Regions from separate parts of the Homo sapiens genome. Here regions 1, 3 and 4 are each linked to region 2. Evidence: promoter capture Hi-C in human tissues and cell types (Jung and others, 2019). All regions are on one chromosome and are shown on one strand. Each heading gives the region's core, a stretch centred on a gene start or on the middle of the fragment in contact. The rest is flanking DNA. Distances are from core to core; before and after follow the strand shown.

What was found. The method cuts DNA at HindIII sites, captures the fragments that hold promoters and counts their contacts. A contact is called where the count stands out against the background at its distance.
Region 1: a fragment that was not itself captured here is called in contact with the fragment with the promoter of FAT4 in region 2 in 3 of the 25 tissues and cell types used here (H1 embryonic stem cells, heart left ventricle and mesenchymal stem cells).
Region 3: a fragment that was not itself captured here is called in contact with the fragment with the promoter of FAT4 in region 2 in 1 of the 25 tissues and cell types used here (H1 embryonic stem cells).
Region 4: a contact is called between a fragment that was not itself captured here and the fragment with the promoter of FAT4 in region 2, in 1 of the 25 tissues and cell types used here (heart right ventricle).

What each region holds. Positions count from the first base shown.
Region 1 is chr4:125,483,348-125,490,744 of GRCh38, forward strand. It overlaps FAT4 (FAT atypical cadherin 4), which reads left to right. Exons shown (of 18, transcript NM_001291303.3): 17 at 3,998-4,259; 18 at 6,554-7,397. Among named protein-coding and RNA genes, the nearest start is that of MIR2054, 20 kb to the right of the region's middle. The HindIII fragment of the contact is 4,587 bases long and covers 1,056-5,642 here.
Region 2 is chr4:125,309,990-125,316,700 of GRCh38, forward strand. FAT4 (FAT atypical cadherin 4) reads left to right here and starts at 4,966. Exons shown (of 18, transcript NM_001291303.3): 1 at 4,966-5,988; 2 at 6,411-6,711. The coding sequence starts at 6,423. The HindIII fragment of the contact is 10,793 bases long and covers 3,030-6,711 here.
Region 3 is chr4:125,458,490-125,465,636 of GRCh38, forward strand. FAT4 (FAT atypical cadherin 4) reads left to right here. Exons shown (of 18, transcript NM_001291303.3): 11 at 5,074-5,178. Among named protein-coding and RNA genes, the nearest start is that of MIR2054, 45 kb to the right of the region's middle. The HindIII fragment of the contact is 6,113 bases long and covers 1-5,796 here.
Region 4 is chr4:125,438,959-125,445,651 of GRCh38, forward strand. The region is part of intron 8 of FAT4 (FAT atypical cadherin 4); the gene reads left to right. Among named protein-coding and RNA genes, the nearest start is that of MIR2054, 65 kb to the right of the region's middle. The HindIII fragment of the contact is 4,358 bases long and covers 2,272-6,629 here.

The DNA of each region.
Region 1 (7,397 bases), core at 2,099-4,598, 170 kb after region 2:
GAGGCTTTGACATTGAGGTCTGTGTGTTATCTGTTAAGTTGCTTCCAAGTCTTCGTGCCATTTAAATGACATATGAAATATTTCTGTACTAACGTACACTTAAAGCCAAGGAATTCAGTCAAAATACAATGTGGTTGAAAAAAATCAGAGACACATTTTTTTCTTCACTAAGGAAAAAGCTGAATGTCAGGATCCATTTTTGTCACCATAAATTCTTCTACTTCCAACAGGACAGCGCATACAACTCCAGATTTTGTTAGCTTGGTAGCAATAACTTAATTTTTTTCCTGAAAGGAAAGTAAGTGCAAATTAATAAAAAAATGAATAATACAGACCAAAATGCATAGTTTTATATGAAAATTTTGAAAAGAAGCTTTTCAAAGGGGCTTGGCAGGTAAAGAGAATAGGTAAGAAAAAATAACAACAGTGAATTAAGAATAACTAAGTAAACCAAAAGAAAGTGGCTGTTGTAAGCAGGCAAATTATTTGGATGATAGGAGTATCAAGTGCTTATACAGACTAGGAAGCTAGTTAGGATGGACTTTTACTTATCAATTAGCTTATTGGTCACCAAGACCCCAGGGTTCCGTTTTTTTTTTTTTTTTTTTTGGCTCCTTTTCTGATCCTTTCTTTAACTCTTTCTTATGGTTTGCATTCTCTCTCTCTCATTCTCTTTTCTATCATTCTTTCTCTCTCTCTCTACAGACACACATACACACACACACACACACACACACACACACACACACGCAGACAGAAGATGAGGACATTTTGTGAAAAATGAGGAAGGGTGTTGGGTAAATGGGATTCCATGTGGCTAGAAGAGAGAGAGGGTGTCAGTGTCAGGTGTGGGCAGCAATAGTGATGAGAGGAGAGAGAAGAATATGTAGAATCAATTGGGTCTATTCAGAAAAAGAAAAAATTAAGAAAAGAAAGTTTCAGAGAGAAAGGCAAAAGGAAAGCATAATTGTGTAAAACTTTGTAGGCCAATATTTAACTCATTTCACAAATCTCTCTTCATTCATGGCATGCCCTATAGCTCCATATTTGATGTTCTGTAATAATAGTAATGTGATGGACTTTATTTCTACTCTAAATCAGTTCTTTTGTGTTTGTCTGGTTTTTTTAAGTGGGCAACATAGGTGATACAGAATAATTGGAATAAGGAATTCAAAGCTCTATAGATTCAAATTAAATAAATGAACAAATAAATGCAGTCATGAGTTGCATAATGACAGGAATGCATTTCGATAAATGCATTGTTAGGTGATTTCATTCTTGTGCAAACATCATAGAGTGAACTTGCTCAAACCTAGATGGTACAACCTACTATACACCTAGGCTATATGGAATAGTCTATTGCTCCTGTGCTATAAACCTGTATGGCATGTTTACTGTACTAAATACTGTAGGCAATTGTGACACAGTGGAAAGTATTTGTGTATATAATCATATCCAAAAATAAAAAAGGTACAGTAAAAAGGCTGCATTGAAGATTTTTGGGGGGATGGGGGACAGCCTGGGCAACAGGGTCTTGCTCTGTTGCCCAGGCTGGAGTGCAGTGGCATGATCTCGGCTCACTGCAGCCTCTGCCTCCTGGGCTCAATGTATCCTCCCACCTCAGCCTCCCAAGTAGATGGGACTACAGGTGTGCGTAACCATGCCGGGCTAACTTTTGTATTTTTTTGTAGGGATGAGGTTTCACATGTTGCCTAAATTGCACTTACTGTGACTGAAGCTTGTAGGACTGAAAGTTGCTCTGAGTCAGAGAGTCATTAAGCAAGTGGTGGGTCAATGTGAAGGCCTAAGACATTATTATACACTTCTGCAGACTTTATAAACACTGTATGCTTAGGTTACATTAAATTTATCAAAAATATTTTTCTTCAATAATAAATTAACTTTAGCTTACTGTAACTCTTTTAGTTTATAAACTTAAAATTTTTAACTTTTTTCTCTTTTGTAATAACAATTAAAACACAAATACATTGTACAGCTGTACAAAAATATTTTCTTTCCTTATACCCTTATTCCATAAGCTTTTTTTCTATTTTAAAAGTTTTTTATTTCATTTTATTTTTACTTTTAAACTTTTGCATTAGTAACTAAGAAACAAAAAAACACATTAGCCTCAGCCTACACAGGGTCAGTATCATCAAATCCCTGTCTTCCACCTCCACATCTTGTCCCAGTGGAAGGTCTTCAGGGACAATAACACAGATGGAACTGTCATCTCCTATGATAACAATGCCTTCTTCTGGAATCCCACCTAAAGGACCTGGATGAGGCTGGTTTACAGCTATTTTTTATATCATTAGAAGCAGTACCCTCTAAAATAATGATTAAAAAAACGGTGTAGTAAATGCATAAACCACTAATATAGTCATTTATTATCAAATTGCATGTGATATACTTTTATACAACTGGCAGCTCAGTAGGCTTGCTTACACCTGTATCCCCGCAATGAGTAATTCGTTGTGCTATGACATTACAATGGCTACTAGGTCACTAGGCAATAATAATTTTTCAGCTCCTATGGTTCATCATTGACTGTTTATTAATAAATAAAACCAAGCAAAAATTAGCATGATGTTTTAAAAGTGAAGAATTATATAAGTGTTAAGTACAGTACTGCCAGGGAGAAGGAAAACATTAAGAATGTTATAATGGGAACTTATATTCTTATCCACCCCAATTTGTGGTATATTCCAAGTGCTCTTTCATCAAAAATTTATTGAATAAAAGGATGACATGATGAAATCAATTAGGAGGAAAGAGCTGGGAGAAGGCTTTTCCTTTTTTTTTTTTTCAAAAAGGACTCCAGCTATAACCAAAGAAAGTTGCTGTTTTTACTGTGTGTCATGAGATGTTGCCCATTTGATGAAATGTTATTGTCATTTAGCTAGAATTTTCTGTTTTTTTTTTTTAGTTTGGTACTGAAATATATTATTATCTGGAAAAATTGGCTTTAATAAAATATTGCTATATGAATAACATATGTAAATGTGTTAGACATCTTTTCGGTAAAGTACAAATGAACTGATTTTTAGTTTTACCAGATGTGTTTGTTACATGTAGAAATAGCATTTGATCTGAGTGACAAAATAAACTGATCCATCTTTTCATTCCCGTTATTTGAGGAACAGTGCCACTGCATCCCCCTGCCAACACACCAGCTCTGTCTGGCAGTGGTAACAGGATTATGCTCCCTGAACCAAATGTTCATCTTGCCTCATAAATTATCTCATTTTCTAAAATGGTCTACTCAGGATACTGGAAACTCGGTAGCTGGAAACTGGAGTGGGAGCACCCTGTTACCCAATGTTCTCCTGGACAAAATAAAATAAACCAAATATCCTTTAGATAAATTGTAAAAGACAGCCAAAGTGAAGGCTTGCCCAGACACCTCATTAAGAATTCACTCTTTGTTCATCATAGTTTTTGATCTCAATAAATGATATAAACAATAGGCATCATTTTTTCCTAAAATTTGTGTGTAAAAGATGAGAGGTAAAACAATTATTTTCATCTTTATTTTTAAACTATGCTTCCCTTTTAGCTGAGCATTCTTTTTCTTTTTGCAAGTGGTTTTCACAATTTTTTAGTACTATGGGCCTTTTACTAAACGAACCAGCATAACACACTCCAATGGCAGGTTGTCATTGGAATACAAATAATTTAAAAAGGTATAATTTAATTATCTTAAATGGACATTCGCCCCTTTATTATTTCAATTGTGTTCTGGAAAATAATTCATCAAGTTTTGAGAAATTAGGTATACATATAAGAATACGTTGAAAACCATTGAAACTTAAATGTAAAAGTACATGTTGCCTAAAATTAGAGACAAAGTGTGTAAGTATATTCTAATACAACCAGATTCTTCAGCTATTCTATCTGCTGTGGACTGGTCAAAAATTTAAGTTTAGTTTTGTTAATGATTTTTATTTAAGCATACCATATTTTAATTGCATACTATTTTTAATATGTTTTACAGATTAAGAATGGCAAAGTATATTTTACATCCGATGCAGGAATTGCTGGGAAAGTGGAGAGAAATATTCCTGAAGTATATGTTGCAGACGGCCACTGGCACACTTTTCTAATTGGGAAAAATGGAACAGCAACAGTATTGTCTGTTGACAGAATATATAACAGAGATATTATCCACCCTACTCAGGACTTCGGTGGCCTTGATGTGCTTACTATATCACTTGGAGGAATTCCACCCAATCAAGCACATCGAGATGCCCAAACAGGTAAATGCCTTTATTAAGTAGAGTCACAAGGGAAGTAAAATTGTTCTTCAAAAAGTAATTGCTTTTTCTTGTGGCAAGACTACACATTTAACATGAATCTCATATACAGAACAATTTCATTCAATAAAATTTATGTTTAAAAAAGTAGTTTGATGTCTGATAATATCAATTATAAATATCCTAAGAATGTCATAACTATCTTCAGAAAGTTTGTAATAAACTATTAGCCACCACTTTCTCGAGAGCTTGCATCTTTCTTACCAAGGTTGTAATTCAGTCCATAGTGTTTTGATGCTTTGCTTGTCCACCAAGCATTTCATATACATTTGTTCATTTATTTATTCATTCACAGCCACTCTCTTCATAGACCATTAATGGAGACAAACATTAATCAAATTCTTACACAAGTAACTGCATTATTCTAATGTGTGATAAATAATACAAATGAAGAATGTAGAATTCTAAAATATAGTGAAAAAAGAGAAAGGAAGGGGAATTTTGCTGTGGAATTGACATGTATACATAAATCTGAATGATGAGGAGGATGAAAGTGTACGAAAGGTTAATTTATGTTGATAGGAATTTTTTTAAAGAAATCGTTTAAGCCAAAGTTATAGAAGACAACACATTGGAGGCTAACATCATAGGCAAATGATGAAGTTGGAGAATGAAGCAACTTCCTGACCATGTTGCAGTTTTGGTCTTATTTACAGAGCAATGGGAAGTAATTGAAAACTTTAATCACAGTAGGATCAAGTTAGATATGCAGTAATATTACAGATCATTCAGGCTACAGCATGGAGAATGAATTGGAGGAGGACACGAGTGGATCTACAGAAATGAGTTGGGATCTGGGCAAGATGTCTTCTGAGCTCCTACTAGTGTGGTGGCTGAGGAGTTAGAAAGAAATGGATAGGCAAGAAATATTCTGGGAACTAAAATCAACCAAACTGTTAGTGATTATGGTAAAATTCAAGGAGGTTTCTACTTCTCAACTCAAAGAAGGGTAGGTCAGCAAGAGAGGAAACTGCAGAACCCTCCAAAAGCAGCATATGTCTGAGAAATATTAGATTTGGTTTGGGACATTTTGGATTTGAAGCATCTTTGAGAAAATCCTTTGGATGGATGGGCTGGAAATCAGAAATAGACTTTAGCTGGAAATATATATTTAAGAGTGGTCAGTGTCAAGCAGGTAACTGAAGTACTGGACATGGATGTGATCACCTAACATGAGGGCGTAGAGTGAAAAGAAAGCCTGGGACGTCATCTTGATTAACCGTAAGAGTTAATGGTTATGTAGAGGAGAATAAGTCGGAAAAGAAGACTAAGTAATAGGAAGAAAATCAGGAGTATAGGAACAAAAAGAAAAGATGTCACAAAAGCTCATGGAAAAAATATATCAAGAATGAGAATGTCACTATGGTAGAATGATGCATTAAATAAGAGGAAAAAAATGCATGTGAGACTAATAGATTTAAGGCATAAAAGTTAAAGTCCAGGTCATAAGTCCTTTTTATATGGTTATTATAGAATGTTGTGAGAAAACAAACCAATGGAAATTACGCTTTTTGTAGTGTCAAAATAGATTGTTGGGCCCTGAGATAGGAATATCAGCACTGTTAACACACTCAAGTGTAATGAAGTGTTTCTTAACTTTGCATTTTATCTTTATCATTCCCCTAAGGAGACACTTAATATAGTCTAAACTTTGCCATCCCCAAGTCATAAAATGTTAACACCAGAGGTATGTTTTTATCTGCCTTTTAGAGGCCCACAAACCATTGTAATAGCTAAGATTTTTTTGTTTTGCTCCCCAAGAACCTATGTTCCACACCTTTGGTGTATTATCACCTTCAATGGGAATGCATGATTTAGTAGTTGAAGCCATTGGCCTATTTCATGTTCTTTACAAATTTAAAAAATATATATTTTATTTGTATGTATGCAATTTTTGGTATATGGGATGTAAAAAGGAAGGAAATTGATAAATAAATGAGTAAGAAAAAGAAAATTCAGCCTGCCCAAGTCATTCATAAATCTTCAGAATGAGTGGGATTCAAGCAATCTGACCCATGTTTGGTCATGGTAATCTTAACGCACCTTGCTAAGTTATAAGATGCACAGCTTAATTATCTTTCAGCTGGATGATGGTTCTGAGACTGAGGTTTCTGTATTCATGTATTCATATGAGGTGATTGTGGAGCTTCTCTTTACAAGAACCCAGCAGTGTAGTATAAGCTCTTTTTTTTTTTTTTTTTTTTTGTAAAAAGCCTTACTCCTTCTTCTTCTCCCAGCAGGTTTTGATGGCTGCATTGCTTCTATGTGGTATGGTGGAGAAAGTCTTCCTTTCAGCGGGAAGCATAGCTTGGCCTCCATCTCAAAAACAGATCCCTCAGTGAAGATTGGCTGCCGTGGCCCGAACATTTGTGCCAGCAACCCCTGCTGGGGTGATTTGCTGTGCATTAATCAGTGGTATGCCTACAGGTGTGTCCCTCCTGGGGACTGTGCCTCCCACCCGTGCCAGAATGGTGGCAGCTGTGAGCCAGGCCTGCACTCCGGCTTCACCTGTAGCTGCCCAGACTCGCACACGGGAAGGACCTGTGAGATGGTGGTGGCCTGTCTTGGCGTCCTCTGTCCTCAGGGGAAGGTGTGCAAAGCTGGAAGTCCTGCGGGGCATGTCTGTGTTCTGAGTCAGGGCCCTGAAGAGATCTCTCTGCCTTTGTGGGCTGTGCCTGCCATCGTGGGCAGCTGCGCAACCGTCTTGGCCCTCCTGGTCCTTAGCCTGATCCTGTGTAACCAGTGCAGGGGGAAGAAGGCCAAAAATCCCAAAGAGGAGAAGAAACCGAAGGAGAAGAAGAAAAAGGGAAGTGAGAACGTTGCTTTTGATGACCCTGACAATATCCCTCCCTATGGGGATGACATGACTGTGAGGAAGCAGCCTGAAGGGAACCCAAAACCAGATATCATTGAAAGGGAAAACCCCTACCTTATCTATGATGAAACTGATATTCCTCACAACTCAGAAACCATCCCCAGCGCCCCTTTGGCATCTCCAGAGCAGGAGATAGAGCACTATGACATTGACAACGCCAGCAGCATCGCCCCTTCGGATGCAGACATCATTCAACACTACAAGCA
Region 2 (6,711 bases), core at 3,716-6,215:
GACTTCTTTCTATCACAGATTACCTGCTTTTAATGTAACACAATAAATAATTAGTAACAAAGGGATGTAGATTCTATGTATCAAGGAAGGTGGGGAAAGGCAGCAGGTTTTGCTGAAGGAGAGGGCTCTTAGACTAGACTTATTCCGAACTGTAATCATATATTAATAAATAATCTTGTGCTATAGAGAAAACCAAAACATAAATTTTTTGTTTGTTTTTGTTTTTGTTTTTTGTTTGTTTTTTGAGGCGGAGTCTGGCACTGTGGCCCAGCCTGGAGTGCAGTGGTGCGATCTAGGCTCACTGCGAGCTCCGCCTCATGGGTTCACGCCCTTCTCCTGCCTCAGCGTCCCAACTAGCTGTGACTACAGGGGCCTGCCACCATACCTGGCTAACTTTTGGAATTTTCAGTAGAGACGGGGTTTCACCGTGTTAGCCAGGATGGTCTCGATCTCCTGACCTTGTGATCTGCCCTCCTCGGCTTCCCAAAGTGCTGGGATTACAGGCGTGAGCCACCGCTCCCAGCCCCAAACATAAATATTTAAAAGTGAATGTGTAATACTTTGTGGGACTAGGTTAATGTAGTATTTTGAGGAATATTTATAGCTTTCAAGATACTTATCAGGAAATAAGAAAATAAAATACTGAATTAAATATTTATCACAGGAAATTGGAAAATAACAGAGCTAGATCAAAGAAATAAAAGATAGAAATAATGAAATAATGAAAACTGATTAAGAAGACAAAAATAACAATAACAGATGAAGGCGACAAAAATCCTATCCACTTGTACTTACCAAACCAGTTTTAGAACCATTCCAAATCAACGTTGAATTTACATCAGTAACCAAACTTCTGAAATCCAGCCAATCTGCAAAAACTGCCCTCTACATAAGTTAACCTATCTCTAACCCCTCCTACTTCTGAAAGTTTGCCATCTATTAACTCCATGCTTCCCCAAATCTAAATAAGATGAGTTCTCTGTTTTGCTCAGAAAGACAGTCCTACAAACACAGCTCCCTCTTGTTTAGCAAGCAGTCCAGTCAGCTATTTGTTTCAGATACTGTGTAAAGTCTTTTTCCATTTACACTATATATCTGAAAAATATTTCTATTCCTTTCCATATGGGGACAGTTGCAAGGATGTTCAGTGCAGACTTACTGTGATGACAAAGGTTTGGAGGAAAACTGGATGTCTATAACTGTGTAAGTGGATATTTTGAAATGAATGGTTGTACACATTAAAGTAAACTGCAAAAGTCAGAAACAACAGTTCAGATATACACATAGCGATATGTATAAATCTTAAAAACATAGTGCTTGGTGAAAAGATAAGAAATAGGATGAGCTATATACACAATATAATGCAATATAATTTATTTCAAAAATACAAGGTAACTACATAATACACATTTTGTAAGAACACATAGAAACAAAAAGATACACATTTCACTCAGAATGTTTGCCTCTGGGGATGAGGTAAGGAGAGTGAAGAACAATAAGGAAGTACAGTAGAGTACAGGAAGGTAGAGTAAAGTGAGCAAAAGAGAGTCCAGCGTAAAATAATAGTATAAGGTGTAAATTAAGGGGGAAAGTGAGGGGAGAGGAGTGGAAGGGAGGACAGAAGAGCCTAGAGGAGGGAAGGGGAGAGAAGGGTGTAAAGAAGAAGGAATTGGAAGGAAAGAGAAAAAAAAGGAGAGGGAGAGAGGAAAGGAGAGGAAATGAGGGGAAGAAAGGGAGGAAAAGGGAGAGGAAGAGAAGGGAGTACAAGGGATGGAGAAGGAAGGGAAGGGAAGAGGAGAAGAAAGGAGAAGAGGGGAGGAAAGCAGGAAGTTGAGAGAATACCCTTTCCTGGAATAATGTTGCTAATGCCTTACGAATTGAGGAATATAATTAACCTAGCCTTTGCCACCTGGAGTCTAAAACATGACAAAAACATAATTTCATACATTTAATTAAATAATGATGGCAAATGTGTATAGATCATAACAAATTGTTACAGAGCTATTTGTTTTAACGTATGTTCTAAGGTTCAAATGAGGTATTCTCTGGTTTCTTTCATATTTGGACATAAAAATATGTCCCCCACAGTCTATTAACATCGGGGAATATCTTCCTCTTCAGAACTTTATTAAAAGCTTTGACTAAACAACACTTCTCACACAAGCCTTTGGTAGAAAAGCACAGATAAACTTAACTTTTTTTTTTTGAAAGGCAATTAATTAAAGAAAATGTACAATGAGAAATGATTCTTACACTAACTGTTTATTAATGTGTTCCATTATAATATCTACCTAGTAATGTATTCCATGGCTTTTTTGCATATTTCATGCATACAATGATCTCTATATGTCTTTACTTTCTTTCATTTACTTTTGGAGAGGGATCCATATTATTTATCATGCATGATTTACTTTTTGGGAGGGCATCCATTTTTTAACATGCATGATATTACAGGTTGAAATGCAAAAGAGAAAAGTAACAACAAAATACCTTTGTCTTTTATTAAAACCATGCTCTATATCTTACCTTAAATTGTGTACCTATCTATACATAGATTGTAAATTCATGTATAGGTTTTATCTATAAATGAATATGTTACTTTAAAGTAGTCATCATGCGAAAAGTTTCTACTTGTTAAAATAACCACACTATTGGCTAAATAATTTTCGATAATCCTCTTTTGAAATTGTCCAAAAAATTTTTATGTACTCTATCTCTCTATATATTTTCTGTATTAGTTTATTTTGCCATATCTTGTTTTGTAAAACTAAAATGTATACATATTGCACTGATTGAATACTTTCCATTTCACAGAATGAATGATCTTCACCTGTTTCCCAAATTAAATTCACTCATATATAATGCAAATGTAATACTATTGACACTAAATCTGAAGATTATCCCACAGGCAAAAAAAAACAAGCAAACCAACAAAAGTCCATGATCTCCTACAACAAGTATCTGAATGATTTCTTTCTGTTTATTTCTCTATAAATACTTGAATAATAGTGCATTAGGAAACAAAATAAAACAAAACAGTAATATTCTCTTAAAATCACACAGACATGATTTGTAAAAATTTGTAAAAATTTGTTTGCCACTTTAGTTAATCTACAAATATTTTTTGGCTAAATTATACCAAAAATAATGGTGTTAGGATTGTAACTTAAGAAAAATACGATTTTTGAAAAACAGGCTTAAATGTCTCTAAAAAGTCTAGAGTCTAATGTTTTCAAGTTTTAAAATACATAAATGGTTAAATTTAACTTTTTTGTCTGTTTCCAGTTAACTCATTACATTACAGTAGAGGAATATGTAGAAGTTAGCTTTTTAACCTAAACAGAGGAATTGGTGATAGCTTTAGAAATCATGTTTCCATAAATCAGTTTTGAGTTACAGGCTGCCTGCATCATCAAGACTTGAATTTGCTGTCTGTCCTACTATTCTTGATTTTTTTTTTTTTACTCTAAATAAGAAAGGCACTAGGAAAGTCTTAGAGATCGTTTTCTTTGCTGCTATCCCTAGGCAAGAAGCAGGAATTAGCCTTGTAATCCGATCCTTTTAGTCTCTGCATTTAATTTTAAGCAAGAAACCAGGAGACTAAAGATGTAAGACTGACGTAGAACAGCAGAGGGCAGTATTTACTCATGACTGAACCCTCTCTGGGCGCAGAAAGTTTTACGTTTGTGAGGGATCCTTGTGGCAGAAATGTATGACATATGCCCTGTATTTGCATTGTTTGGCTTGAATTCTTATTTTCTAGGTTGGTTCCCTTAAAGGGGAAAAATATCGATCTGATTCCTAGTAACGTTTTTCTTCTTTTAAAGAAACGATGCATGCCACCACAAAAATTAACTGCAGTGAATAGTGGGTGAGTTGATCTGAGTGCATTAAGTGGCATGTGGGTATTTTTAAAAACTTAAGCTTAAATATTATTTTATTTATTTCTACTTTCTCGTATCTATTTCTCCCAGACTGAAAAGCAAAATAAAACTTTATTAGGTTTCCTTTGACTAAAAAATGTGGAGGTGGAAATACTCCATCAGGGATCAAAATTCCAAACTAACTTTGCAACAGGAAAAGATCTCCCTCTTTTCAAAGGGCTGCCATTATTATTGTTGTTGAAACCCTAAGGTTTGGGCTACTGGCACCTGGAATCCAGTTGGGAAAGAAAACAAAACAAACACTGAGTTCCCCTGGCCTTTCCTATAGTAGGAAGTCCAAAGTGCCCTTGCTACGGAGGCCTCCTGCCCCCTAGTCACCTGGAAGGTGGGGGAGAGGGGCAAGTGAGTGAAGATTTAGAGTTTAGCTCGCCCTAGACAGCAGGGAGCCCACTGTGTAGAAAGAGGAGCAAAGGGGAGGATTTGATTTGGATTCTGTGGGATCACACTGTATGGCAGCTCTATCCCTTGCATAAAGAGAGAAGGGGCAGGAAATGGTTAAAGCAAATCTGCACTGTGCATTCCCAGACAGGCTTTGCTTAATCCTTCCTCCCCGCTTTAACAGACCCTCACCCCCCGCCTTTCTTTTATTTCTCTCGACCCCCTTACCCCTGAGTTATTACTAGCATAACAACCTAACGGTCTTCCCCCAGACCCTGCCACTAAAGTTATTTATCTGCAAACCTGACCCCACCCCCATCTATTCTGCGGCAGCCTTTTGCTGTTATTGCTCTGACGCCGGCCAAGATTTGGCCGAAAAGGAAAAAAAAAAAAAAAAAAGAAAAGAAAAAAAATCACCCCCCTTTTTAGCGCCTCCGCCTCGCTGTGCTCCCACACCAGACCGCCTACAGCCCTCCGGGAGGCTGAAGTGATTAGCATCCCGAGAAGCCAGTCGGAGGCCGGGCAAGGCGGAGGGCGCTCGCGGTAGGAGTGCCGGTCGGGGCTGCTTCAGCTCCGGCCCAATGGGGCTGGGGCGAGGGAGGGGCAGAAGGTGACAGGACTGGGAGCTAGGGGGAGTCCAGGCGAACTAAAGTGCGGGGATCAATGAGTGTCGAGCAAAGTTTCTGAGTGCTGCTCCAGCTCGCGGTCTTCCCTCCCCCTCTGTTTGTGTTTCGGCGACGCGCTGTGTGTGTGTGTGTGCGTGTGTATGTGTGTGTGTGTGCATGCCTGTGCGGCGGGGAAGGGGCGGGGAGAGTGTGAGGGACCAGGCGGGAGGTGGAGAAGGGCTCGCGGAGCCCTAGCTCCACCGCAGTCCAACCTTCGGCCCCGGCCGGCGAGAGGGAGAGCGCTGACAGGCGCCGTCCGGAGCTGCGGAGGGCGTCACTACAGCCCAGCGCCGACTTCGCCGCCTCCGCTGCCAACTGTGAAGGAGAGAGAGGCATCAACCACCCCCCGCCCCAAACAAAAAGCCTTGTGGATTACAAAGTGAAACTGACACGGGACAATAAAAGCAGAGATAGCGAGGGCAGGGGCGAGGCGCGCTAGAGTGGGCTTCTGACTGGGGCCGCCGGAGAACGACCCCCCCTGGCATGGTGAGGGGAGGGCGACTCGGGGACCGCACGCTGTTTCTGCCCGACCCCTGCGAGGCCGAGAAGAAAGGGGAAACTGCGTTCGATTTGGATGTACAAATAATGGGTCGGCAGGCGCCCCGGCAGAGGTGAAAAATGCCGAGGAGCCCTGGCTGTTGTTTGTGCCGGACCACGGGCTTGAAGCCGCAACAGGGGCGGCGGCGGCGGCGGCTGCAGGAGGGGAAGGGGCAGAGTTGAGCGCTCCCGGGTACGGGAGCCAGAGCGCGAACGCTAGCGCTTGGAACGCAGTTCCCGAACTGCCTGCGCGCAGACGCCGCCGCCTGGGCCTCAGCGGCCACTGCCGGCGCCCTGTTGGAGGGGCGTTGCAGCCTGGTTTTTGAGGAGTGGGGACTCCAGGAATTCCATCGCCTCCAGCTTTTGGGAAAGAAATTCGATTCTCCCGGTTCCCCACCACCCCTTCCCCGGTGCGCAGTTGTGCTTGGACGTTTGTTCCTCCCTCTTCACGTTCTTCGCTGCGGGTAAGTTCTAAAGTTTCTGAAGACCGTTCTTTGCAATGATTCCTCATATACCTTAGATACAGGCAACTTCTCCCAACTCTCATCCACCCGGGTGAAAACGCTCAGACTATCTGGATTCAAAAACAAAGTAAAAGGGGGCATATATAAGAGGCTTGAGAAACTTTTCTGGGAACTCAGCTCACAGGAGTGTCCCGCGGAATGCCCTGCCGCTTTTCGCCACAGCATCTCTCTTGCACTCCGCGTTCAACTGGCTACCTAGAGTCTTTTGCTGATGCTACTTGCTTTTGCCGGACTGGAGGTTCTTTGAAATAGCAGAGGTCTCAGACCAAGCCGTCAGCTGAATCTTTGCTGGCGCTCCTTAATCCCTGTAAATATCATTGCGTTTGCTTCACCCCTTCCTTCTCTTTATCACATCGTTTTAGGGAGCCAGGACCATGGACTTAGCACCAGACAGGGCTACTGGCCGCCCGTGGCTCCCGTTGCACACTCTATCAGTATCTCAGCTCCTTCGAGTGTTTTGGCTACTGTCATTGCTTCCGGGGCAGGCCTGGGTCCACGGGGCCGAGCCGCGCCAGGTGTTCCAAGTGCTGGAAGAGCAACCTCCAGGCACTCTGGTAGGCACCATCCAGACGCGCCCCGGCTTCACCTACAGGCTCAGCGAAAGCCACGCCCTGTTTGCCATAAACAGTAGCACCGGAGCCCTGTACACCACCTCCACCATCG
Region 3 (7,147 bases), core at 1,490-3,989, 150 kb after region 2:
ATTAAATTTTGTTTGAGATAAAGAAGAGTGGCTCATGTAAGAGACAATAAAGAGTGCAATTATTTTTATTTAATTTGATTCCTGAAAGCAGAATTAGGCAGTTTACATTAGGTAATACATTAACTTATAAAAGCATTAATAACGTATGTTTCTAAGAAGTAGCTTAAATGCTTATTTCTGTAGAAAATAAGCATATATTTATAAGCTTATGAACATTATGTGTGTAATCATATGTAATCATTTGTAGTCTCATTGAGGTTGTGTTTGTGCTTGTTTTACAAGACAAAGGTAAAAACTTTTTTTGGTTGTTGCTTTTGTTACTGGCAGCCCTTATTAAAACATGGTATTTTTGCTTTTGTTTCAATGCAAAAAAGCCATAAGGCTATTGAACAGGATACTTAGACTATCTTCATAGCTCCTTAACAATAATGGGAAACATTTGCATACTGTGCAAAAGACAGCTACTTTTTGCTAAAATAATTTGGAAAATATATAAGATAAATGCCTAGAATGAATAGCATATATTTATTATAGAATTTCTTTATTAATAACATAATCAATTTAGACCTAAAATGGATTTTTAGAGTTGCACATATTCTCCCATCTCCTCTGTGTAGAAATACAGGAGATTTAAAAATAATATTTATGGTAGTCTAATATGTATATATAATCTAAGATCTTAAATTGAAGGCTACATGTATCATAGGGTATCAAAAATTATCGTATCTTCATGGAGTGGTCCAATTTAGCAGTTGAGAATAAATTTAGCTCTATTTCACATAATCCAACATTAAAATGTGCTTGGACAAGTGAAACTTGAATATACATTCTTGTTGAAAAGACCATAGGTGATTACAATAGATTCAGTTTATGTTCAACACGTCATCACATCTTCTGCCCCCAAACATGAAAATAGACACAAAATTTCTCCTGTAAGTTTAGGAAAGTCTGCGGATACCATGGATTCCTATTATGCATTTATTTTCACCTTAAGCTATTCCCACTTTCCATGTGCTAAGAATTTACACTTCTTCAAGCACATCTCCTTCTAGTTATGATAAATAGTGTATGGCAACACAATTAATTGATGGATGTCAAAGCAATGAGATCAATTTATTCTTCTAAACAGCTGCTATGGCAGTAAACATATCTTAATGGAAGGAGGCCTCTTGAGTTCAAGAGGAATAAATGCCTGTCTTTGTGCAAGTCCTATCAGCATACTTCCAAGCCTGAAGGCGTTTGGCAAGTATTGTTAATTGACTTGTAGCATTAATTAAGTTAATGATCCAAGATTTTGTTTCACAGTGCTTCAACACATCAGATTATTGTACCAAGAGCATGTTAGAGTAATTCAAACTACTGCATTCTCTGATACTCATTATGCTATTAACACTACAATTTAAGTAGATAGACTTGCACAAAACAATTCAGAATTTTGTTAATTTCTAATTGGGTAAAAAAGCATAAACTTTCCAAACCTGAGAAATATGCATTTAGAAGCTTTCTTTTGATTCTAAGTAAAATTATGGAATCCTTTTCTCACACAAAAGACACAGGTGTTTTAAATAATAATTTAAATTTAAATCTGTTTTCCTACTATGTCTTTGAATTCAAGTATCTGCTATGGCAACCTCTGAGTTCATGAATTGTAAAAAATTTTTACTCTTTAAATGGAGAACTCAATTTTTAAATAGTAAATAATTTACATACTCTACCACCAACAGATAAGACTATTTTTTCCAAACTCAACAACAAATTCCTTTATTTAACCCCAAACAAAGCCATTTTATCTATTTTTTTAACTTATATTTTAGGTTCTGGGTACATGTGAAGGTTTGGTACATAGGTAAACTCATGTCACAGGGTTCGTTATACAGATTATTTCATCAACTAGGAATTAAGCCCAATACCAAATAGTGATCTTTCCTGCTCCCCTCCCTCCTCCCACCCTCCACCCTCCAGTAGACCCCAGTGTCTGTTGTTTCCTTCTCTGTGTCCATGTGTTCTCATCATTTAGCTCCCACTTATAAGTGAGAACAGGTGGTATTTGGTTTTCTGTTCCTATGTTAGTTTGCTGAGGATAATAGCCTCCAGCTCCATCCATGTTCCCACAAAAGACATAATCTTGTTCTTTTTTATGACTGCATAGTATTCCATGATGTGTATGTACCACATTTTCTTTATCCAATCTGTCATTTATCAGCATTTAGGTTAATTCCATGTCTTTGCTATTGTGAATAGTGCTGCATTGCACATTCATTTGTATGTGTCTGTATGGTAAAATGATTTATATTCCTCTGGGTATATACCCAGTAATGGGATTGTTGGGTCAAACAGTAGTTCTGCTTTTAGCTCTTGAGGAATAGCCATTATTAATTATTTGTAATTATCCACTAAGACAAAGTAAAAAGGAACAACCTTATTTTTAAACTGAAATACTGAATGCAAGGTTGAATTTGTTTTTTCTTAACAATTTCTATTTCTATTTGTGTATACTTGAAGAATCAGATTCTATTGAGAATTTAAGTTTTATAGGAAATTCGTTCTCAAAATTAGTATTTTATTGGTTTGTAACATCTTCTGCCACTTTGTAATCACTGTATGTTTTAATAAATGAATAAGTCTTATTTGTGTTAGGATATATTTCCACTCCTCACTCTGGAGTAACTGCAATAGCCTGTATTTTATATTTAAATTAAACTCAGATGTCTATGTTAAAATATTTTATACAGGGTTAAATAAGAATTGATTCATATAATTATACACAAAAAGAACAACACGTAAATTTCATTTGTTGCTATTTAACTCAAGATTTATAAAGGTAGTATTTGTAAATGAAATTCAAAAAACATATAGTAGCTTTATAGGAACAATGACTTGGGATTTATACTCATATATTTTTGTCAGAGAGCACATATGTCCAATTATTTGAGTAAGTATACATAGCAGTACCCTCTACATTTGTTACTTCTTATTTGTTCCTCATTTCCAGTCGTTAAGAAGTGAAGGTGGCAATTTTGTAACCCACTAACATGTTTTCATGATAACAAGGCTATATTGAACACACTTATAAATACATATATAAGTCTATGTATTTTATACATGTTACTTTTAACACAACTCTAAAATAATTTTTTGGATAAAGAAAGGAATGAAAGAAAGTAAAACTGTACCTAGTCAAAAAGCACAAGTGAAAATTATGTGTGCTTTTACAGTGAAAACCAAATGGAAAGAGTAGAATATTACTTTATTGATGACAACTAATCAAAAATATGGCCAGTAGACCTTATGTATTTGCAACTGGGAAATACTGTGCTGTAAGAAAAAAAAATCTACATCACTAAAATGGCCTTCACATAATCAGTTGAAAAACAAAACAGGAAAGAGTTCTGTGAAACCGCAACTCTCTGGTGAGAAATCAAGCACTATTTGAAGTTTTCCTGCCTATTTCTCCAATGTAGTACACTGCTACAATACTTAAAACCTGATTTCTGTGCCCATAAATTTGTAACTTGTTTATTTTCATGCCCTTGCCTTAACAATACAAAGGTATTCTGAAATTGTTAGCTCAATGTTTTGCCTTATAAGGAGGTTCCCAATTTATTTATAAGGGAAAAAATGTTGTGTTTATGATTCTGTGATGTACAGAAATGGGCTTAGTTAGCATCATGAGATCTGACTCACACTTATAATTTCAGACCAGAATAAGTGTGGCTCCGTAATCAAGCCACAAAAACAGAACCAATTTAAACAAAATTTTGACTGTGTTTTAAGCAAAGTTAGTATGATGAAATGAAGTATCTATGCTCAGCAGTAGGTCTCGTTGTGCATATAGAATGCATATCATTTCCTGAGCTATCTAATAAATGCATTAGTGAAATTGGGCTGGGAAGTAGAAAGTAACTTCCAGAAACAAATGATGTAGTATTTACAATCCTACTCTCAATGAAAAGAAATTAACTAAGAATTCTGTAACATCTCACTGCATTATGAAATTTGAAAATTAGATCCTAACGAATGTATCAAATGATTGCAATACTTTAAAGTTATAGAACAGTGGTATTAGAACATGTTTAAGTTTAGGTAAAAATAAGTAACAACAACAAAAACAAGTGGGACTTATACTCCAAGTTTTATACACCACGTGATCAACTACCATAGTTTTGTGAAACCTGGATATGGGAGCAGAAGCCCTAAATTGGTCTGTGTCATAGTTTTACAGTTTCACAGACAATATATTAGCCTCCAAGAGGCTTTTATTCTTCACTTTTGAAATGTAAATATTTCCTTTGTATGGATTAATACTCCCTACTGAAATGGAAACACAGTCTGAAGACACTTGTTTGCTTTCTTCACTGCCATATCCCCCTCCATTATCATGTCTGGCCCATAATAAGCACTCACTCAATATTAGTTGATTCAATTTAACAAGATCATGTATGAGAAAAGTCTTTATAAACTGAAAAATATGCTGTTTAGGTATTATCGCTTCAGACAAAAGACAAAGTATACATAATCTGTAGTCAAGAATAAATTTTCATAAGCATTTGAAAATATGATGTGTTTTCTTATTTCTTATTCTGCTTTACAACAGATATGTGTAATTCAAGTGATATTTCTTAGTAGTAGAAAGAGTGTAGTTTGATAAATAAGATAAGTTATTATCTTTGAAATACCTAAGTCAAGAAAATCTCTGCAGTGAAAAGAATACTGTAAGTTTCAACTTTCTATCTATAAAATATAAAAGATGAAGGGACATTGACACAGAAAATAAATTCAGTGAAAGCATTTAAATATGTTTATCATGTCATTTCTCTGCAAACAGTATTTTCTTCCAAGATGATTATGTAAATTATTTCCTAAGTATTATAATGCACATTTTACAATAGGACAACTAAACAAGATTTTAAATTCTAAGATATTATTCTAATTTCCTTATGTCAAGTAAAACGTTTTTATATTTCTTTTCTCCGTGATATGCCTTAGGAAAGATTTTTACGTATGGTAATGGTGTAACGGTGTTAATATATTTATGTATGAGATTTAAAAAAAACTGAATTTGATATATTTTAGGGAAAATGTGTGAATCTTCAGTCAATTACTGTGAATGCAACCCCTGCTTTAATGGTGGTTCCTGCCAAAGTGGTGTGGATTCTTATTATTGTCATTGTCCATTTGGTGAGTAAAACTTATTTGTTGATATAAAATATAAGTTTATTTTTGCACACAGTTTAGCAATTTTGTTTTATTATGAGTATGAAAGACCAAAAAATTATTGTTTTACATGGAAGGTTTTATTAAAATAAAATCTTAAATGTTTAACATTTGTAAAAGTTATGGAAATCCCATTGAATACATTGCATTGGTCATTACTAGAAAAAGAGTCAACTCAAGATAATTGAATTAATATTGTTTCCATAGGATATTTCCCCCCAAAGATTTATGGATATCTTCTTTTCAGCTGAGAAGTTATGAAATAAAAAAATTCTGTAAGCACTCTTTCACGTCACTCTCTATTTCAAATCTTTAAGAGTAGTCAAAGTAAGGTTTTTTGTTTGTTTCACTTTTGTGAATTTTGCTTTATTTTTTATTTTTGTTTTTTACATTAGTTTTTAATTTTGTTTTTTATGTTAATTCAGCCACTTTTATTAGAAGGACTTAGTAACTATACCTGACGTTTTCATAATAGGCTTTTTGTAGCTGATACTACCTGACTAATAAAATTTCAGACTAATCTGTCTTTTGGATAAGAAAAATTGTTAAAAAGAACTTTTTTGTATACATACATATTTATTCACCCTAGTGGAATGAACTAAAAGATTCCTTCCAGGTCTTATCCAGCTGTTACCCATTACTGTGCCAGCCAAAAACCATGAGATTCAGAGGAAGCATTTGTATTAGCTTGGCTTGTTTCATAAGTTTGTGATTATTCCATTCTTTTTAAAGGCTGCTTTACACCACAGCATAGAATCCATCTCCAAATGACTCTGTCTCTTTTCTTTTTTTTTTTGTCCCCTTTGTATATCTATTTATTTATTTTTTTATTATACTTTAAGTTCTAGGGTAATGTGCACAACGTGCAGGTTTGTTACATATGTATACATGTGCCATGTTGGTTTGCTGCACCCATCAACTCGTCATTTACATTAGGTATTTCTCCTAATGCTATCCCTCCCCCCTTCCCCACCCCATGACAGGTCACGGTGTGTGAAGATCCCCTTCCTGTGTCCAAGTGTTCTCATTGTTCAATTCCCACCTATGAGTGAGAACATGCGGTGTTTGGTTTTTTGTCCTTGCGATAGTTTGCTGAGAATGATGGTTTCCAGCTTCATCTATGTCTCTTTTCTTAAGCAAGAAAGAGCAAGGATATTTTTCTAGTCTTCCTTTGGGCATATAACTGTGCTATATGGACCTGAACAGTAAAGCTCAATCTATAGTAGATAATAGAATTTAAAAGACATACGCAGTTCCTAATAACCTGTATAATTTACTAGGTATTTTTAATTTCCAAACAACTTCATGACTATCTGTTTTTATTAAGCACATCCATAGAATGATAAAGACAAACAAAATAGAAAAATATCTAATTTTGAGGAATGTATTTTACCAATGGTTTTGAGGCCCAGAAATTGGCTGATTTGCCCAAAGTCAAAAAATGAAGTTGAGGCAAAACTACCCCAAGACGATGTAGCAACTAGAACACAATTTTTTATTTTCAGTCCAGTATGACATTCACAGAACCCCTTTTTATACAATTTCTTTGAAATTCTAACAATGCCTGTGAAGTAATGAAAGGTATATCAAGGTCAAAATAACCACAACTTGAGATGTCCAAAAACTTTTTCTTTCTTTCAATGGTGTCTCATCATTTTAAGTGGTGCTGCTTTCTACAGATAACCACAGTCAAATTTCATGGTTTAACTTAACATTTTGAGATAAAAGATAAGGGGATTAGAGTGTAAACTAGAAATGATTTTCAAGTGACTGAACAGAGATGTTCATATTTTTAGGGATCCCTTTGCAAATTTTAAGGATTTAAGTTTTGAGGATTTTGAGTTGCAAATTTGGGGATTTAAGAAAATTGATACACAATAAAAACAAGTTGCTGCTGCAGTGTAGTGGTACAACTGTCGTTGCCTATTAAGTG
Region 4 (6,693 bases), core at 3,201-5,700, 130 kb after region 2:
TTTTTCCAATGATCTAGCATGATTTTGCATATAGCATCCAGCCAACAATGTTTCTTTTTTACTTCTACCTATTTGATCAAACTTTGTATTTCTACAAATGGTGTACTTACTTTATGTTATACATTTTACTTCACCTTTAGTATTTTCCCTTATAGAAAATCAGACTGTATTAATTCTTAGTCTTTCTCTATCCAGATTATGTCTTTGCCTTCCACATATCTATTCCAGAGCTTAGCTTTTACAGATATGTATCCCCTTTTCTCCCAACTGGACCAAATCTCTATTCAAGCCCCACTTCTAATTCTTCTGTATCACAACCCTGGAGACAGCCACAAACTCCACTGACAAAGTCAACATTCTAAGGAAGATTTCTTTTCTTTTTTTTTTTTTTTGAGATGGAGTCTCGCTCTGTCACCCAGGCTGGCGTGCTGCGTCGTGATCTCAGCTCACTGCAACCTCCGCCTTCCAGGTTCACGCCATTCTCCTGTCTCAGCCTCCTGAGTAGCTGGGACTACAGGCACCCACCACCATGCCCGGCTAATTTTTTTTTTTTTGTATTTTTAGTAGAGATGGGGTTTCACCGTGTTAGCCAGGATGGTCTCGATCTTCTGATCTCGTGATCTGCCTGCCTTGGCCTCCCAAAGTGCTGGGATTACAGGCGTGAGCCACCGCGCCCCGGCCAGGAAAATTTCTTAATATGTGCTATTAATCTCTTCCCATTCAATTTCCTCCAACTCTTTAATTCAAAAGTTACTCATTTTTCTTGTGTTTCTTCAAGTTCTCTCTCTTCCTTGAACCATGTAGATATCTATATAAATGCTCATTTACATAAGTTAGCGTATCTACAGAAATGCTCAGAATTTCTGTTGAATTCTGGTTCTTTTATTTGCCTCCCATGGCCTAGGAAAGTCATTTTAGTGCCTCAAAGGCTTAGTTTCTGCATCAATAAAAATGAACATAAAAATTTATACTTTACAGTTTGTGAGACAAACATTTACTAACCACCTACTATGTATCAAACAGTATGTATGGAATCAGTTAATATCCATAAATGTCTCTGGCATAATTATTAGGACATAGAAGTCACTAAATTAATTCAAGGTTTCTTTTTTCTTTTTATTCTTCTCATATCATCTTTTTTACTCCTAATATATTCTTTCTTTTACAATATCTGGTACATAACAGTGGTTGTCACTTAAATAAATGCATTGAATGAACGATTTTAATATTCTCTGGAATGGCTGCTTTTACTCATTCTATTTTTACTACAACATTCTTGAAAGCTTCACAACCTGTTTTCTCTGACCATTTATTCCTGAAAATCTTTAGTCTGATTTTTTTTTTCCTTCATTGCTTTACTAAAAAAAGGCCCTGTCAGAAGACTACTGAAATTTTTCAAGTCCAGTGACTTTTCTAAGTCCTTATTCTCCTTTACTTTTTGCAATGTTCACACTACAGGCCAGGCCATCTTTTCTTTTTGGCATTTTTTCCTGCTCAATGTCTATATAAATATTATTTCTTATCATCCTGCATCTCTGATCACACACAGTTTGTTTTCTGTTTCTCTTTTCTCTCTCTGGAAAGTAATTTGAATACTTCTCACTGCATTATTTTCTCAGTACTTGTGTGTGTGTGTGTGTGTGTGTGTGTGTGAGAGAGAGAGAGAGAGAGAGAGAGAGAGAGAGAATTTATTCCATTGCTGCAAGCATCAATTCTGTGAACAAAACCTCCAAATCTGTACTATCAACTCTGATTCCACTCCAAAATTTTGCACCCATATTTATAACTCGCTGATAGACATATTACACTGGAGGTTCTGTTGGCATCATAAACACAGTGTACCTAAAATTCTTTGCTTTTCCTGTTTCTCATTTTGGTTTTCTGCTTTGTTTTAATAATATTGTCTTGGTTTGTTTTTTACCACACCTTGCAGCTAAGGGTCATCCCCTCTCTTATACTCAATCAGTGGACAAATTCTCATGTTTCTTCTTTTCTAATGCATCTGGCACCCATTCTTTTCAGTGCATCCCTTCTGCCAAGATCCTAGTTCAGTTCATAATTACATCATGCCTGTACTATTATAATAAGAATTAACTCACTTCCACGCCTCTAGTTTCTAATCCTTCCAATCTATGTAGTACACTGTCCTGTAAAATTATGAAGCCCTGACTATGCACCAAAAATTTATTAAACTCTCAGGAGTTTGGAACTCTAGGGCCCATAAGAAGTGCAATTTAATAGAAGAGATAATTTTGTAATTTCTTAAGTGTAGTACCGTATAACAAGTATAGTTTAAGCACAGAATAGGTGGAAAGAATAGTATGGCCAATGATCCTTCAATGATACTAAGTAGAAGTAGTTTATGGAGAAATAAAGGAATGAAAGATATTCTAGGCAAAGACAGTATCAGGTACTAAGGCAAAGAGCTATGCAAAAAACATGGCATTAGAGAAAGAAAGTATTTCCATATGGTTGGTGTGGGTTAGGAATGGACTTTGTATACCATATAAAAAATTCAAAATTTCTTTCTGCATCTAAGGAGAGAAACAATGGAAATGTTTTAAGCAGCAAGCACAAAAACATGCCTAGTTATATTTCATAATTATTTCTTTCCCAGCATTATAGGAAATAATTTGTACAAAGCAAAGCTGGAGTCAGTGAATTAAAGGGCAATGGCAGAAGTATGCATCAACATGAGCATCTCTTGGCTCTGCTTTAACAATTATACTTCCTTCCTCAAAATCTTTCAATTCCAGTTTGCCTATGGTATAACCCCCAGTCTTCAAATTCTAGTCACCCCATAAATGGCCCCAGCTAATTCTGCAAAACTCTGCAACATATGGCCAAAAGTTCAGTATTACTGGATCATTTTCTGCTCATGGGACAAGGATCTGTGCTTTCCCAAGCCTTATAGGTTTGCTCAATTTATTCTATATCTTTGACCAGGGCTTGGCAAACTACTACCTGCAGGCCAAATTGGGCCTAGTGCCTGTTTTTGTAAATAAAGTGTTATTGGAACACAGCCATGCCCATTCATGTACCTATTGTCTTTGGCTGCTCTTGCCATATGATGGTAAGCTGAGTATTGCAACAGAGAATATATGACCTGTAAAACTGAATATCTTTACAATCTGGCCCATTATATAAAAGGTTTGCTGACCACTAGCCTAGACCTTCTTTTGTTTCTGCCTTTTTGAACACTATTGAAAGATGGGTAGCCCCTTTACAACTTATGTTAAATTTACCTTTCTCTGAGGAAGCTTTATTTTAATCATTCCAGTCAAGAGTGTTCTGTCTTCTGAATACCTACAGTGACACCTCTTTACTGTTTCATAGCACTTTACTGTTTTGTAATTACCTTTTTTTTATATCTTTCTGTCATAAAGGACATAAACTTGAAACCAGGATTTTTTTTAACCTACTTAACCGTGTCTCTGTTTTGAATTTTTAGTCCCTTTATCCATTTAACTATCTAAATATAGGTTGAGCATCCCTAATCTGAAAGTCCAAAATCTAAAATGCACCAAAATCCTAAACTTTTTGAGCATGAACATGATGCCACAGGTGGAAAATTCCACACCTGATACCTTTGCTTTCTGATGTTTCAATGTTCACAAACCTTGTTTCAAGCAATTATCAAAAATATTAGATAAAATTATCTTCTGGCTATGTATATGAGGTATATGAAACATAAATGAATTTTGTGTTCAGACTTGAGACCCATCCCCTAGATCTCTCATTATGTATATGCAAATATTCTATCCAGAGAAATCCAAACACCCCTGGTTCCAAGAATTTTGGATAATGGATACTCAACCTATGTATAGATAGATATGGATAGATTGTATGTAATAGACTATTACGTTATACATATATATTATATAGGTCCTATTATGTTGGTAAACTTAGACTTTTAAAGGCTCACCATTTATCAATTACAATGCCAAGTGCTCTTTATACAAAATATTTTTAATAGTCAAAACTACCAAATAAAAAGTAAAATATGACCTCCACTTTACAGATAAAGAAAGAAGGCTTAAAAATGTTAAGAAATTTTTGTGAATTTAAGTGCTATTCATGGGGTTTAAATTTATGTCCAAGTGAACTATGTTCTAAAGTCCAGTCTCTTAACTAAATGATCATATTCTCCCAGCAGACAGTATAATGCCTATAACCCTAGTAGATCTCAGGAAGAGGCAAAGAAGTTTTACAAAATCAAATGGGGATATTTTAACTTTACAAAAGCAATAGTTGATTTAGGGTTCAGATCACAGTGGTCTCTGTTTATGCAAATAATTTGAAATAGTAATGTATTCTCAAATTAGAAAATAATTTAACGTGTTTATTGATTTTCATTGAACTAAATGTGAACAAATTCTATATTGACACAACTTGAGCAAGAGTCCATGTTGGCCTTCGCAATTGGTACATTTTCCGTCTTCACTACATTCCCTCAGTTGAGTTTTACCTTCCTTCTACTGTGGAATAATGGGAAAAGTGCATGGTGAAGTCATAAAGACAGAAATTCAAACTCTAGATCTGCTATTTATAGATTGTATGTTTCTTTGTGCAACTACTTTAGTCTCTGTTAGATTCAGATTCATTATCCCTAAACAGTCAAAACTAAAACTAAACTATAAGGATAGTTTTGGGATTTAAATAAGAGCATATATAAATTGCCCAGTAGTGTGCTTGACATGCACTAAGAAATCAATAAGCTCCTGGAAATATTTAAGTAACAGCATAAATGTTTAACTGTTAAGAAGATACCACAAGACACAATCTAATAAAGTTTTTAACTTTACAAAAATTAATGCAGGCCAGAGAAGCAAGAGAGGTCATCAGGAGGGATGAGAATAGAACCAAGCCTCAAGTAAGAGATGTGGCAAAAATCTAGACATATTATCTTAACTGTCGATCTACGTACAGAGCTTATTGTGTTTCTTCTATTTTTAAAATTAGAAGTATAAATTTTCATCCAACTGGTGTTATAGAACATCTCATATTTAAAATATACTTTTATATGCTTTAGAATCTAGTGAAGTCTAGAAAAAATTAATTAGATATTAATGACTATTTGCTCATTCATTTTAAAAAATACTAAATATATTACCTACTTTAAAATAGACAGTCATACGGGCAATAGCATGTGCAATAGCATAAAATTAAAAAATCAGAATTTATACCATAGGTTTCTTTGTCTGTTTTGTGCTGCTATAGCTACAGACTGGGTAATTTATAAAGAATAGAAGTGTATTTGGCTCACAGTTCTGGAGGCTGGGAAGTCTAAGGGCATGGGGCCTGCTTTTGGTGAGTGCTTCCTGTGTGTTATTTCATGGCAGAAGGGCAGAAGGCATCACATGGTGAGCAATCATGTGAGACAGAGAGAGGGAATCAGGCTGAACTCATTCTTTTATCAGAAGCTCACTCCCTCAATAACTAACTCCCACTTCCGTGATAATGGCATTAATCCACTCATAATGATGGAACCCTGATGGTCTAATTCACCTCTTAAAGGCCCTACTTCTCAACATTGTTACAACACTGTTACAATGACTAATTTCAAGGAACATTTAAATGATAGCAAGTCTTTTTGAATGGATCATTTAGTGAAACTGGACTAAAGGCCACACCATTTGCCTATCAACACATTACGCTTAATAATACACCATGGTCTTGGCATATACAAAACATCCAGATGAAAATTTATGTTTTTTATCAATCTCATTTTATTTTTATTTGTGAATATTTATAGGAATAAATATTTGATTGAACCTTGATCCTTGCCATTATAAAACTAAAAAAGTTTATGGCAGCATGGCTTACTTTATTTTCCTATTAAATTATTTGATTATTTCTACATCCACTGACAGCAACAAGGTTCCAAAAATAAAATTACACAATTCTCAAATCCAGTTTTCTACACTTTGTAAAACGTTAAGGTATTTTGATTATTTTGTGAGTCCTGAATTTTCAAGTTTTAAGAATTCATGTATAAAACTTGATATTTATATTTTGATAAAGAGAATATATATTATCTACTGTAAAGGGCAATAATTATACCTAATAGTCACTTCTGGCCCAATAACTATAGTTAATGCTATTTTCACACATGCCTGATTCTGTCGTGTGATTTGCCAAGCATATTAAAAATCTGAGTGACACAAAGTATTTTATCAATACTGAAGCCATTTCTCAACCAAACCACTTCTCTATTCTTTCCCTGTTTTGCTATCATTTTATAAGACTTCTAATAGTTTTAAATATAAGGTCCTCAACAGTTGATTATTTCACTAAAGTAGGATAAAAAATGCTGAAATATTTGTTTTAAGCTGTGAGCATAATAGGAGAATGAACATACTACTGGCTGCAATATAGTTTTTTCCCCTGCAGTTTATATTAGATATATGCTGTTGCTATGTTTATATAGACACAAAGCAAACTGTAGAAACATGCAGCCAACTCCAACAAGGGTATCTATTTGTTGGTATAAAAGAAGAAAACTTTTAAAGATATCTATTTCCATGCTATCTTTCAACTTTAAAAATTACGGACCATAGCCAATTTCTGAACCTTCAAGCTTAGCTACTTCTTTCCTGGCTGATCTTTGGGACCTCACCTTATACACAAAATCAGGAATATATGCAGACAACTGTACTCTTCAGAAAGAAGAGAGAAGCTTTTCTCAGTGGA